2 separate regions of the Homo sapiens genome follow, and region 2 is linked to region 1. The links are contacts of gene promoters, found by promoter capture Hi-C in human tissues and cell types (Jung and others, 2019). All regions are on one chromosome and are shown on one strand. Each heading gives the region's core, a stretch centred on a gene start or on the middle of the fragment in contact. The rest is flanking DNA. Distances are from core to core; before and after follow the strand shown. Region 1 holds the start of SLC35G1 (solute carrier family 35 member G1). Region 2 has its middle 36 kb from the start of PLCE1.

Region 1 (6,385 bases), core at 1,177-3,676:
AGAAGAAAACTGAAAAATTACTCAGCTTCTCTATCCTCTGCTTTCAGCTGGTGATTCGCAATCCTGGTTGGGAATTAGAATCACCTGAGTAACACTTAAAACTTTAATTCCTGGGTGCAGTGGCTCATGCCTGTAATCCCAGCACCTTGGGAGGACAAGGTGGGAGGATCTCTTGAGCTCAAAAGTTTGAGACCACCCTGGGCAACACGGGGAAACCCCCTCATCAATGCAAAAAATATTTTTAAATTAGTCGGGTGTGGTGGTGTGTGCCTGTGGTCCCAGCTACTCAGGAGACTTAGATGAAAGGATCGAGTAAGCCCAGGAGGTTGAGGTCGCCGTGAGCTGTGATCACGCCAATGCACCACAGCCTTGGTGACAGAGTAAGACCCTATCTCCAAAAAAAAAAAAAATTAATTCTCAAGCCCCATCTCAGACCCACCGAAATAGAATCTCTGTAACTCTAAAAGGCTCCACTAGTTTGAGAACCACTGCTACACTCGATCACTAACTCCCTCCAGAGGATGTGAGGCACAGGCCTAAGAAACTACTTCTCCTTGCTTCAGTGTAAGACCCACACTGTCCCTGAAGAAAGTAAGGAGATGTCTTGGGACAGCTGTATGTGTCTGTTAAGGTCATCCAAGAATGTAAGACATATGGGTAACAGTTCCAACCAGAACTTGAAAAAAGCTTTGTTGAGATAAGCAGTTAGAACAAGAGGTGTCACAAAGTTCAATGACAACAGTAAAGTGTTTTTATGTCAATTTTCTTTCCAAAATATTATCTTGTCACCTTACAATAACTAAGTCTTACTGGTAGAAACTTTCTTTGAAGTTAAACACCCACAAGATTCTTAGATACACTCACGTAAGTTTCTCATCTTGCCATGAGCTGCCTGGGAGTAGAGAATTCCTCTTCCATTCACAAAAAGGGGAAACTTTAAGAGTTTGCATGGACTGATTCGGCATGCCACCAGAAGGACATTCACCCAGAGGGTGATAGGTGAGAAACTGACCTTTTCAAAGGCTGCTTATCTGTTCAATTCAGCCTGGCATAACCCCTGTTCTAGAGGCACCAGCCCATTTATAAATGATCACAAGTCTGATCATTTCGGTTTGCCTTTAGGACAGAAATGGAGCAAGAATAGTCTTCCTAGAGTCTGTCTCTCTAACTTGGGGAAAGTGCACAAAGGGAGGAGGGGAAAGCGCAGTGAGAGGAGAGGAACAGAAATCCAGGGTCACACTTAGGGGAGGTGACCCAGAGGACAAGGTGGTGCAGGCCGTGTAACTGTCCTAAAAAGAGATCTGCCTATTCCCTTCTTCTTGCAGGAAGCTGCTCCTGGTAGATGGTCGACTTCTAAGAGGAATGTGCTTGAAGCAGCACTTGTGGCCAGTGGAAAGGGCCCTAGGCCGGTATATGGCAAGCTGGGATCCTAACCCTGGTGCTCCCTGGACATGCGCCCCATCTCACCCCCACGTTCCACATCTTGGAGGAGACAAAGCAAACGAAAACCCAAAAGCCCTCACCTTCCTGGGCCTCACTTTGCTCATGTGTCGAAGGAGGGGGACTGAACATAAAGTGTTCTTCACGAGGGGTCCCTGACTTTGGGGACGGGGCTGTGAGCTTCTTAACAAGATATGCCTTGTTCTGCATCGTTTGCTAAAAAGTCCTTGTATCCCTAAAGGTTAAAAACTAGCGGTCCCACTTATCTCTGCCTTTCCAAGATTCTAAAACTCTAGGACGAACATTTTTTCTAGACTCGATGCTTTTCAGCTTCCTTTTCGGAGAGAACCCTTAACCACCGGGATCACTTTTCAGGGTCAGCTTCCTCGCAACGTCGCCCCACTGCAGGATGGCCTCTCTCGCTGACCCCCCACCTACGACCTAGGGGAGGGTACGCCAAACTGCAGTCTGACTCCACAGCCCTGCCCCGACACTAATTACAGGAGCAGCCTCGGAATCCCAAAAGGACTGCTAACAATCGGAAAGTTTCTTCCGTCTTAGCGCCGGCTGGGGCGCCGGGAATTCCGCTTTGCAGCCCCCCAGCTGACAGCTCGAGGGGTTTCCCGAGCCCCGGGCAGGGTGGGGACGGAGGCGCGGCGGGCACTGTGCCCGGGTTGCGGGGACCCCAACCCGCCGGCGCCCGCTCGGGACCCCCGAGCGAGACCAGAGCCCGATCCACACCGCGCACTCACCCGGCTCGGTGCGGGAGCAACACGGCGAGGAAAGGCAGAGCCAGCACCTACCGCGGTCTGGCGCCCCAGCTGCCTCGGCGGCCGCCGGCTCCTCAGTGGCGCCCGGGGGTGCATCGTCCGTTAGCGGCAGCCCGGGCTCCTGGAGCTCCGCGACCCCGGTGCTGTCCTGAGGCCGCATCTCGCGGCACGCGCTCTACCAGCGGCCGGTGCCGTCTGGCGCCAGCAGCAGCGCCTGGGCTGCCGCTCTTCCGGCGGGCGATGGCGCCCATGCGCATGCGCGCCCGGCCCACCCGCACCCTCCCCCAAGGAGACCGCGCGCGTCCTCCGCTGGCCTCTTAACCTGGGGAGACCCGCTGCCTCCCTGGTCGGGCTGTGGTGCCCACAGCTGGCTCTAAGGCGTCCAACCCTCTGCTGCGTTCAGGCTACATGGCCCAGCTGCTTGGAGCCATCCTTGGCAAGTCACACTGAACCTGTCTGTCATGGCACAGACAAGGAGGGGCGCTGGGTTCCCAAGCCCTGGCGCCCGGGGGTCCTGTGGCCTCCTTTTCAGGAGGCTCAAAGAGTGGGCGTTTTTTCATTGATGTAACCACGCATTCAGCACCTCTGTGATACCCCGAAGATTTTACAAAGCACCATGCTTGTCTTTAAATGGTCTAGGGTTTTTATGTTTTGTTTTGTTTTGTTTTGTTTTGTTTTGTTTCCCGTGTTGTCCCTTTGCTGCTTACCAAGGAGGGTAGAATTTTGCTGTTTTGGGAAATATTTTTAAGAAAGAATTAGTGTGTAATTATAGGAAAATATATCTATAAGACTGACCAGAACCCATTTATATGTTCTTTGCATTCTTTGCAAGAGTAGGCATGCATTATTGATCTTTGGTTTTCTTTTCTTAAATGGAAATATCCTAATTTGGCCAGATGTAAGATTCAAGTAATCTGATGTAATTAGACCTGGTAAAATATATTCTTTGGCCCAGGATTCACTAACAGCCTCTTTTTGTTTAGCTAATAATTCTTCTTCCATCTCTTTGCTTGCTTTATATGTGGAAGAACAGTCTCTGTGCAAGGATGAACGTATCTAAACTTCTAAGTCCAGTGCCAAGCAGATCACCAAAGGAGAGTGAAGTTTGCCTTTACTCAGACATTTGCACATAGTGATCCACAGCTGAAACAGTTTTAGACTTGAAGTCAGGAATCCTAGGTTCTGGCCCTGAGTGTGTGACCTCAGTCACCACTGTACCCCTCGAAGCCTTGATTACCTCCTTTATTTAATAGCGATCAAGTATTTCCCTTCCTGCTTCGCAGAGTAGTTATGTAAATAAAATGCAATGATGTGGGCAAAAGCATAATATCACCTGGAAAACACTATGTTAGAAAATCAAAGTGTGTTTTAAACTAGGGTCAGCATATAATTTATCCTCCAAACTGGACCTTTTTTTTTTTAAGAGTAAAAGGAGGAGCTCTTTTAAAAGTTACACAAGGGAATAGGCATAAACTGGGACTGTCCTAGGCAAACTGAGACAAATGGTCACCTGAATTCTAACTTGATTAACACATACTTTTGCCTTGTCTTAAAAGAGAATTTAAGGCTGGGCACGGTGGCTCAGCCTACCATCCTAGCACTTCGGGAGGCTGAGGTGGGAGGATTGCTTGAGCTTAGGAGTTTGAGACCAGCCTGGGCAACATAGACCTTGTCTCTATAAAAAAAATAATAATACTTTTAAAAGAATTTAAGGCTACTTACAAAAATATCTGTAACAGGTTTTGTTGTCGTTGTTTTAGATAGGGAAATTTCAGGGAAGGATGGTAAGGGTGGTAGATCATGATTATAAAGCAAGAACCAGGAAGCTTCCTCAAATATCTGGGAAGTCAAGTGCAGTTTCACAATTGCATTCTAAGATTTCGATATGGAAAGGGTTTGAAGAGTCCCCTCCTCTTAAATGGTGAAGATTATGGCTAGGAAGTGTGGTAAAGAAGAAAGAAGTGTGATGATTTGAGAAGGAAGTACCCTGACTGCTCCACTTTCAACACTTTCAACACCATCCTCGAAAAGGGAGAAGAAGAAGAGAAGAAAATGGGTACTACACCAGTTATTAAAGGTGGTGAGATGATTTCATACCTGCTGTTTATTCCCTTTAACTTCCTTCCCCTCCACTGCTGACCTTCATATATAAATGGTATCAGTTATATTCATTCTCCCATTTAGCTGACAGCCATGCTGACATAAAAGGCAACCAATGAGAAAAGTGCGGACCAAGCTGGCCTGTAATCCCAGCACTTTGGGAGGCCGAGGAGGGCAGATCACTTGAGGTCAGGAGTTCGAGACCAGCCTGGCCAACATGGTGAGACCCCGTCTCTACTAAAAATACAAAAATTAGCCAGGTGTAATGGCGGGTGCCTATAATCCCAGCTGCTCAGGAGGCTGAGGCAGGAGAATCACTTGAACCCAGGAGGCGGAGGTTGCGGTGAGCCGAGATCACGCTGCTGCACTATATCCTGGGCAACATGAGCGAGACTGTCTCAAAAAAAAAAAAAAAAAAAAAAAAAAAGTGCGGACCAGACTAGAAGTCAGAAGACATGGCTGTCCTGAAGCTCCACCCAGTAGAGGTGTGGGGCTGTTAAGGTCTCTCCTGAACATTGTTATTTCAGGTCTTTGGTGATGATAGTGATATTGAGCTGGTGACAGATAGATCTCCATAATGTGCAGGATGGGCCAGAAATCCCGACTGTAGAGGAGACTAGTTCAGAGCCTATTGAAGTGACCCAGATGAGATTCTGACCCCAGGTAGAGAAGGCAAGGAGGAAAGATGGATTTTGAGGTGGCTAGGAGATGGAATGTGCAGAACTCGTTGACTAGATGTGAAAGAGCATTGTTTCTGTATGCAAAATTGTGCTGTGTTCCAGCACACACTCTTCTGCTTCTGAAGTGATTCAATCTTCCAGTGAGAACAGGAGCTCTCACTGTGATGCCAGGTAGCCACAGCAAGGATGGCACTCCCATAGTTCTGGTGTCAAGAAGGAAGATGAAAATGGAGAAGAGGTGGGTTTTAACCTGTCCCTGCTAACCACTGAAAGTCCAAGATCCTCACCATCCATGTGGCAGCAGGTGGAGACTTCCAGGAGGAGTCAGATTCCTGGTTTCCACTGGTCTTTGCATGTCAGGGATGTTCCTAAGTGAGACGTTTGTATGTCAGAAACTGTCTTTCATAACAAACTGGTACCTTGGTACTGATTTGAAGGACTGCTTTTTTTTTTCCAAAAAATTCATGGATTCTTACCTTTTAAACTAATGCAACTTATGACTTGGGAAATGGCAGTTTGTTCCAAACAGCCCTAATGTTTTGTTTTGGGAAAAATCAGTACTGTGGAACATAAGATCATATTTCTAAATAATCTTTGTAAATGAAAGAAGGGACCAGCAAAAGAGAGGTCATTTAGGATAAATGTAGGATAGAACACTGGAGAGGCAAAATAAACTGTTCAAATAAGTAGGAGCTGACTCTGATAATATAACAGAAAAAAATGCCAGGAATGGCTCCTCAAAAAATTAGACATAGTTACTATATGATCCTCCAATTCTACTTCTGGATATATATTCCCAGATGAAGTGAAAGCAGGAAATTGAACAGATATTTGTACATTCATTTTCATATTAGTATTATTCACAACTGCCAAAAGCTGGAAACAACTCAAATGTCTGTCAATGAATGAACAGATAAGCAAAGTGTGGTATAAAGCATACAGTGGAATGTTATTCAGTCTTAAGAAATGAAATTCTGACATGCTACAACATGGATGAACCTTGAAGACATTATGCTAAGTAAATAAACTGAACATAAAAGGACAAATATTGTATGATTCTATTTATTAGCAGGGCCTAGCATAGTCAAATTCATGAGACAGAAAGTAGAATGATGGTTCCCCGGGTCTGGGATGTGGAGGGAATGGGAGTTAGTGTTTAATGGGTATGGCATTTCAGTTTAGGATGGTGAAAGAGTTCGGTGGATGGATGGTGGTGATGGTTGTTCAGCCATGTGAATGCACTTAATGCCACTGAGTTGTATATTTAAAGTGGTTAAAATGGTAAATTTTATGTGTATTTTATTAAAATTTTTAAGGGGTTAAAAATGCCAGGGAAAACATTTCTGAGAGTTTGAACTTTAATCTCTGTAGACAGTTTAAAGCCCTTACCAGATT
Region 2 (5,991 bases), core at 1,267-3,766, 64 kb before region 1:
ACCCTCGGACTTTGCTGCCTAAATTCTATGGACTGTACTGTGTGCAGACAGGTGGCAAGAACATTCGGATTGTGGTGATGAACAATCTTTTACCAAGATCGGTAAAAATGCATATCAAATATGACCTCAAAGGCTCAACCTACAGGCGGCGGGCTTCCCAGAAAGAGCGAGAGAAGCCTCTTCCCACATTTAAAGACCTAGACTTCTTACAAGACATCCCTGATGGTCTTTTTTTGGATGCTGACGTGCACAACGCTCTCTGTAAGACCCTGCAGCGTGACTGTTTGGTGCTGCAGAGCTTCAAGATAATGGATTATAGCCTCTTGATGTCAATCCATAATATAGATCATGCACAACGAGAGCCCTTAAGCAGCGAAACACAATACTCAGTTGATACTCGAAGACCAGCCCCCCAAAAGGCTCTGTATTCCACAGCCATGGAATCCATCCAGGGAGAGGCTCGACGGGGTGGCACCATGGAGACCGATGACCATATGGGTGGCATCCCTGCCCGGAATAGTAAAGGGGAAAGGCTTCTGCTTTATATTGGCATCATTGACATTCTACAGTCTTACAGGTTTGTTAAGAAGTTGGAGCACTCTTGGAAAGCCCTGATACATGACGGAGACACTGTCTCAGTGCATCGCCCAGGCTTCTATGCTGAATGGTTCCAGCGCTTCATGTGCAACACGGTATTTAAGAAGATTCCCTTGAAGCCTTCTCCTTCCAAAAAACTTCGGTCTGGCTCATCTTTCTCTCAGCGAGCAGGCTCCAGTGGCAACTCCTGCATTACTTACCAGCCATTGGTCTCTGGGGAACACAAGGCACAAGTGACAACAAAGGCGGAAGTGGAGCCAGGTGTTCACCTTGGTTGTCCTGATGTTTTACCTCAGACTCCACCTTTGGAGGAAATCAGTGAGGGCTCACCTACTCCTGACCCCAGTTTCTCACCTCTAGTTGAAGAGACTTTGCAAATGCTAACTACAAGTGTGGACAACAGTGAGTATATGGGGAATGGAGACTTCTTACCCACCCGGCTGCAGGCCCAGCAGGATGCTGTCAACACAGTTTGTCATTCAAAGACCCGCAGCAACCCTGAGAACAACGTGGGCCTTATCACACTGGATAATGACTGTGAAGTGCTGACCACACTCACCCCAGACACTGGCCGTATCCTGTCCAAGCTACATACTGTCCAACCCAAGGGCAAGATCACCTTCTGCATGGGCATCCACGTGGCCCATCTGGCTCTGAAGCACCGACAAGGCAACAATCACAAGATCCGCATCATTGCCTTTGTGGGAAACCCGGTGGAGGACAATGAGAAGAATCTGGTGAAACTGGCTAAATGCCTCAAGAAGGAGAAAGTAAATGTTGACATTATCAATTTTGGGGAAGAGGAGGTGAACACAGAAAAGCTGACAGCCTTTGTAAACACGTTGAATGGCAAAGATGGAACCGGTTCTCATCTGGTGACAGTGCCTCCTGGGCCCAGTTTGGCTGATGCTCTCATCAGTTTTCCGATTTTGGCTGGTGAAGGTGGTGCCATGATGGGTCTTGGTGCCAGTGACTTTGAATTTGGAGTAGATCCCAGTGCTGATCCTGAGCTGGCCTTGGTCCTTCGTGTATTTATGGAAGAGCAGCGGCAGCGGCAGGAGGAGGAGGCCCGGCAGGCAGCTGCAGCTTCTGCTGCTGAGGCCGGGATTGCTACGACTGGGACTGAAGACTCAGACGATGCCCTGCTGAAGATGACCATCAGCCAGCAAGAGTTTGGCCACACTGGGCTTCCTGACCTAAGCAGTATGACTGAGGAAGAGAAGATTGTTTGTGCCATGCAGATGTCCCTGCAGGGAGCAGAGTTTGGCCTGGCAGAATCAGCAGACATTGATGCCAGCTCAGCCATGGACACATCTGAGCCAGCCAAGGAGGAGGATGATTACGACGTGATGCAAGACCCTGAGTTCCTTCAGAGTGTCCTAGAGAACCTCCCAGGTGTGGATCCCAACAATGAAGCCATTCGAAATGCTGTGGGCTCCCTGGCCTCCCAGGCCACCAAGGACAGCAAGAAGGACAAGAAGGAGGAAGACAAGAAGTGAGACTGGAGGGAAAGGGTAGCTGAGCCTGCTCAGGGGACTGCATGGGAAGCACGGAATATAGGGTTAGATGTGTGTTATCTGTAATCATTATAGCCTAAATAAAGCTTGGCAAGATTTTTTCCTTCTTTGCTTCAAAAAAAAAAGAAAGAAAGAAAGAAAGAAAGAAAGAAAGAAAGAAAGAAAGAAAGAAAGAAAGAAAGAAAAGAAAAGAAAAGAAAAGAAATCCTGATGCCTAAATCTGACCCCTTGAAATGCTGATGAGCTTCATCTGAGCTGTGTGATCTCTCATGTGCAGCTAAGGTTGAGAACCACTAACATAAAATAATTCACATTAAAATCACCAGGAAGCTTTAATAACATTTCAAATACTTGGACCCAACCCCTAAAGATTCTAATTTAATTGGCCTGGGACTCAGGTACTGATATTTTTCAAAAGCTCACAAGGTAATTCTGAAATTCAGCAAAAGTTGAGAACCACTATTCAGACTAAGTGACTTGTCCAATGTCTCTGGGTGCATCAGACTTTACGGCCTTCCTTACACAGGGGTTGTGAATGAAATATGGCTATGGAAAGCAATTGTTGAGTAATATGTTATAAAGTATGGTGGTGATGATGATGATGACAATGATGACAATATTTCTTGAGTGCGTCCTATGCACCAGGCACTATGCTAAGCATTTTATGAGCTTAATCTTATTGAATCTTCAACATTAGCCTGCTGGTATTATTTTCCCTTTTCCTTGATTATAATATGTCATCAGTTGAGGATGACAATTTAATAACAGTTATTAGAGGCTGTTGCTTGTTAATAGGAAAATATTTATTCAGTCCTCCAGAGACAAAGATTTGCTTTGATCAGAATAAATGTAAATTTTGATTTATTTAACATGAAATGCAAATAAACATGTGTGCTGCTATCAATGCAAATCACTCATCCCATGTGATATCAAATAAGCAGATACCTTCTATGTAGCCCTCCAAGTTCACCTACATTCACAAATGTTACTTATATCTCATACTGGGGTATCCATACTGGGCCTGGAAGCTGGCAAGTTTATTTAGACACATTCCATTTCAGGAATAATAAAATGCAGGGAAAATGTGTATCTTTGAGTCACAGAATCATGGTATTATTCTTATTTTCAGGTGAGACTTTAAAAGATTAAGTGACTTGCCTATAGTCCCAGGGTTCATTCTACAGCCAAGCCAGAAATAACAACCCAGTGCCCCTGATGCTGGAATTCTCCAGAAGCTCCTCTACTGACATAGTTTCCACTGACAAACTTTCCTTGACAAGAATAAAGTAGTCTGTCAGAACAAAATTTTGCCAGCTCTGTCTACTGCCAGCACTTGGAAATAGGAGTCCCATGGGGTTTGCAAACAAATGAAAGCAGTGGTGGGCTTGCAAGACCTCACCAGTCCTTAGAGTTCAGTTGATATGTCTCTCAATACAATGCAGGAACTAATTTTAAAGCATTTTGAAACAAGCACAATAACTGAAAATTCTGAGTTCAACAAGAAACAAATGCATTTAATCTTTGAAGAAAAATCAAGTCAATTAAGAAATGAAAATAGGTTGAGACTAGACGAATAAGAATGGAAATGATCGATTGGAGAAGTTTTCAGCCTTGAACAGGCCATTACCAAGTGGTCAGTATGACCACATTTATCTGATATTATTTGGTCCTTTTCTTTCTTTTAAAAGTACTATTTAGTTATAAGAATCTTAAATGCTGGCTGGTGCAGTGGCTCATGCCTGTAATCTCAGCACTTAGGGAGACTGAGGCTGGAGGATCGCTTGAGCTCAGGAGTTTGAAACCAACCTGGGCAACATGGTGAGACCTTATCTCTACCAAAAGTAAAAAAAAATAGTTGGACATCGTGGCATGAGCCTGTAGTCCCAGCTACTTGGGAGGCTGAGGTGGGAGGATCACTTGAGCCTGGCAGATGGAGGCTGTGGTGAACTGTGATCTTGCCAAGACCGTGTCTCAAAAAAAAGAAAGAAAGAAAGAAAGAAAGAAAGAAAGAAAGAAAGAAAGAAAGAAAGAAAGAAAGAAAGAAAGAAAAGAAAAAAGAAAATTAAACACCACTTTTTAAAAAAAAGCAACAAAGAAAATTTGGACATTAAGAGAATAAACATTCCCATTAATCCCATCTCCACTCTCCTAAGAGATCATCAGTTTAGTGCCTGCTTTTCCAAAAATATATGTCAAAAATGATTTCTCTTTCTTAAAGAGAAAGTATATATCTATAGTCTTAACTTTCCTTTTTTTTCCAACTATATAAATATAGTGGCCACCATACATTATTTTAAGCAGAAGGTAAATTAAACGATCCACTGCGAACACTTTGGATTTCTTTTGTAGCTCCCAATGTTTGTTTGGCAAGATAGAAATGCCCTTAAATGCAGCCTTATTGTCCCAGCTTTAGTAAAATTCTATTTATAAATCAAATCCAAAGTAACCAGAGACGTTGGCATAATCTTTGGTATTCTCTGCCGGTACAGAGAAATCTCAATTTGTGGTTTCCAACATTTGTAAGGTGGTAAATAGCAACCTCCCTCCACTGTTCCTCCCACCTCAAGTCAGCAGGGTGCTGGTAAACTGGCTTGGGTGGGAGTGAGGGGAACCCCTGGTGTGTCGTATTTACTGACTTCCATTGGGTAAATGCTCCATGATTGGCTCACAAAATTTCCTAATATTTAACAATTGGTGTTGAACTGTTCTAACACATCAGTGTCAAGCCATTCGATGACCAATTATGGCACATATATGACCCTTTTATCTTGATATAACACTCATGCAGGCTTATTTCATACATGTAGTCACTGCACCTACAAGAAACGTATAACAGAATGAATGACCCAAAGCCAACAACTGTGGGGAAAAGTGAATTAGACAACATCTCTCTCATATTTCTCTATTTATGAGAGGAAATTCTAGCATATAACCTCCAAGTATGATGAAGTTCTTCTGTAGACATGTAGGTATCAGTATTATGCTAACATTTTTTCTTTTCCTAGATAAAAATAAAGTAGCCCACAAGCCTGGTTTTATGTTATGTTAACATTCATTAGGTATTCTTTGCAATTTTCCCTTTTGCAGCTATTAAATCACTTATTCCTTCAATATTTTTTCCTGCATAATGATTTTTTTATAGAAGCTAATACAGTAAGCATTTTAAAGTCTTACCAGTTGTGACATTGAAATAATGAGACTTTAAAGTCCAACCACGTATCTGGAAATATAGGAACACCATTCATTTATTTTTTAGAAGACCACACACTCATGCTAATGAGGATGCCATTGCTTAAAATGTTTTGGAAATTCTCTTTAGGAATTGTTTTTGGCACAAGATTATGCAGTATGGATGAATATTAGTTTCACTGCCCTAATAGTGGTGCTTCATATTTTTCTAATTAAAATTATAAAATACAACCTCTGATAAAGGGTAAAGAGCATTGGATGTTGATTCAGAAGATCTGGACTCAAGTTTAACCTCTGCCACCTACTCGTTTTGTACTCTGCATATCCCTTAACTGCTCCTAACCTCACTTTCCTTCTCTGCAATTTGAGAATAAAAGTACACTCGTGCGTTGCTTAACAGCGGGGATGTGTTCTGAGAACCACATTGTTAGGTGACTTCATTGTTGTGTGAACATCGTAGAGTTTACTTACACAGCCTAGATGGTATAGCCTACCAAACACCTAGGCTAGCCCCTATTGCTTCAGAGCTACAAACCTGTACAGCATGTTCTGAATACTGTAGGCAATTGCAGCACAATGATAAGTGTTTGTGTATCTAAACATACTCAGTATAGAAAAGGTACAGTAAAAATATGTATAATCAATAAAAAATGGTACATCTGTATAGGGCATTTATTATGAATGGAGC

What was found. The method cuts DNA at HindIII sites, captures the fragments that hold promoters and counts their contacts. A contact is called where the count stands out against the background at its distance.
Region 2: a contact is called between a fragment that was not itself captured here and the fragment with the promoter of SLC35G1 in region 1, in 2 of the 25 tissues and cell types used here (mesenchymal stem cells and thymus).

What each region holds. Positions count from the first base shown.
Region 1 is chr10:93,890,019-93,896,403 of GRCh38, reverse strand. It overlaps SLC35G1 (solute carrier family 35 member G1), which reads right to left and starts at 2,426. Exons shown (of 3, transcript NM_001134658.3): 1 at 2,193-2,426. The coding sequence starts at 2,370. RefSeq lists silencers at 488-537, 2,023-2,452. The HindIII fragment of the contact is 9,096 bases long and covers 25-6,385 here.
Region 2 is chr10:93,954,913-93,960,903 of GRCh38, reverse strand. It overlaps the pseudogene PIPSL. Among named protein-coding and RNA genes, the nearest start is that of PLCE1, 36 kb to the left of the region's middle. The HindIII fragment of the contact is 3,706 bases long and covers 664-4,369 here.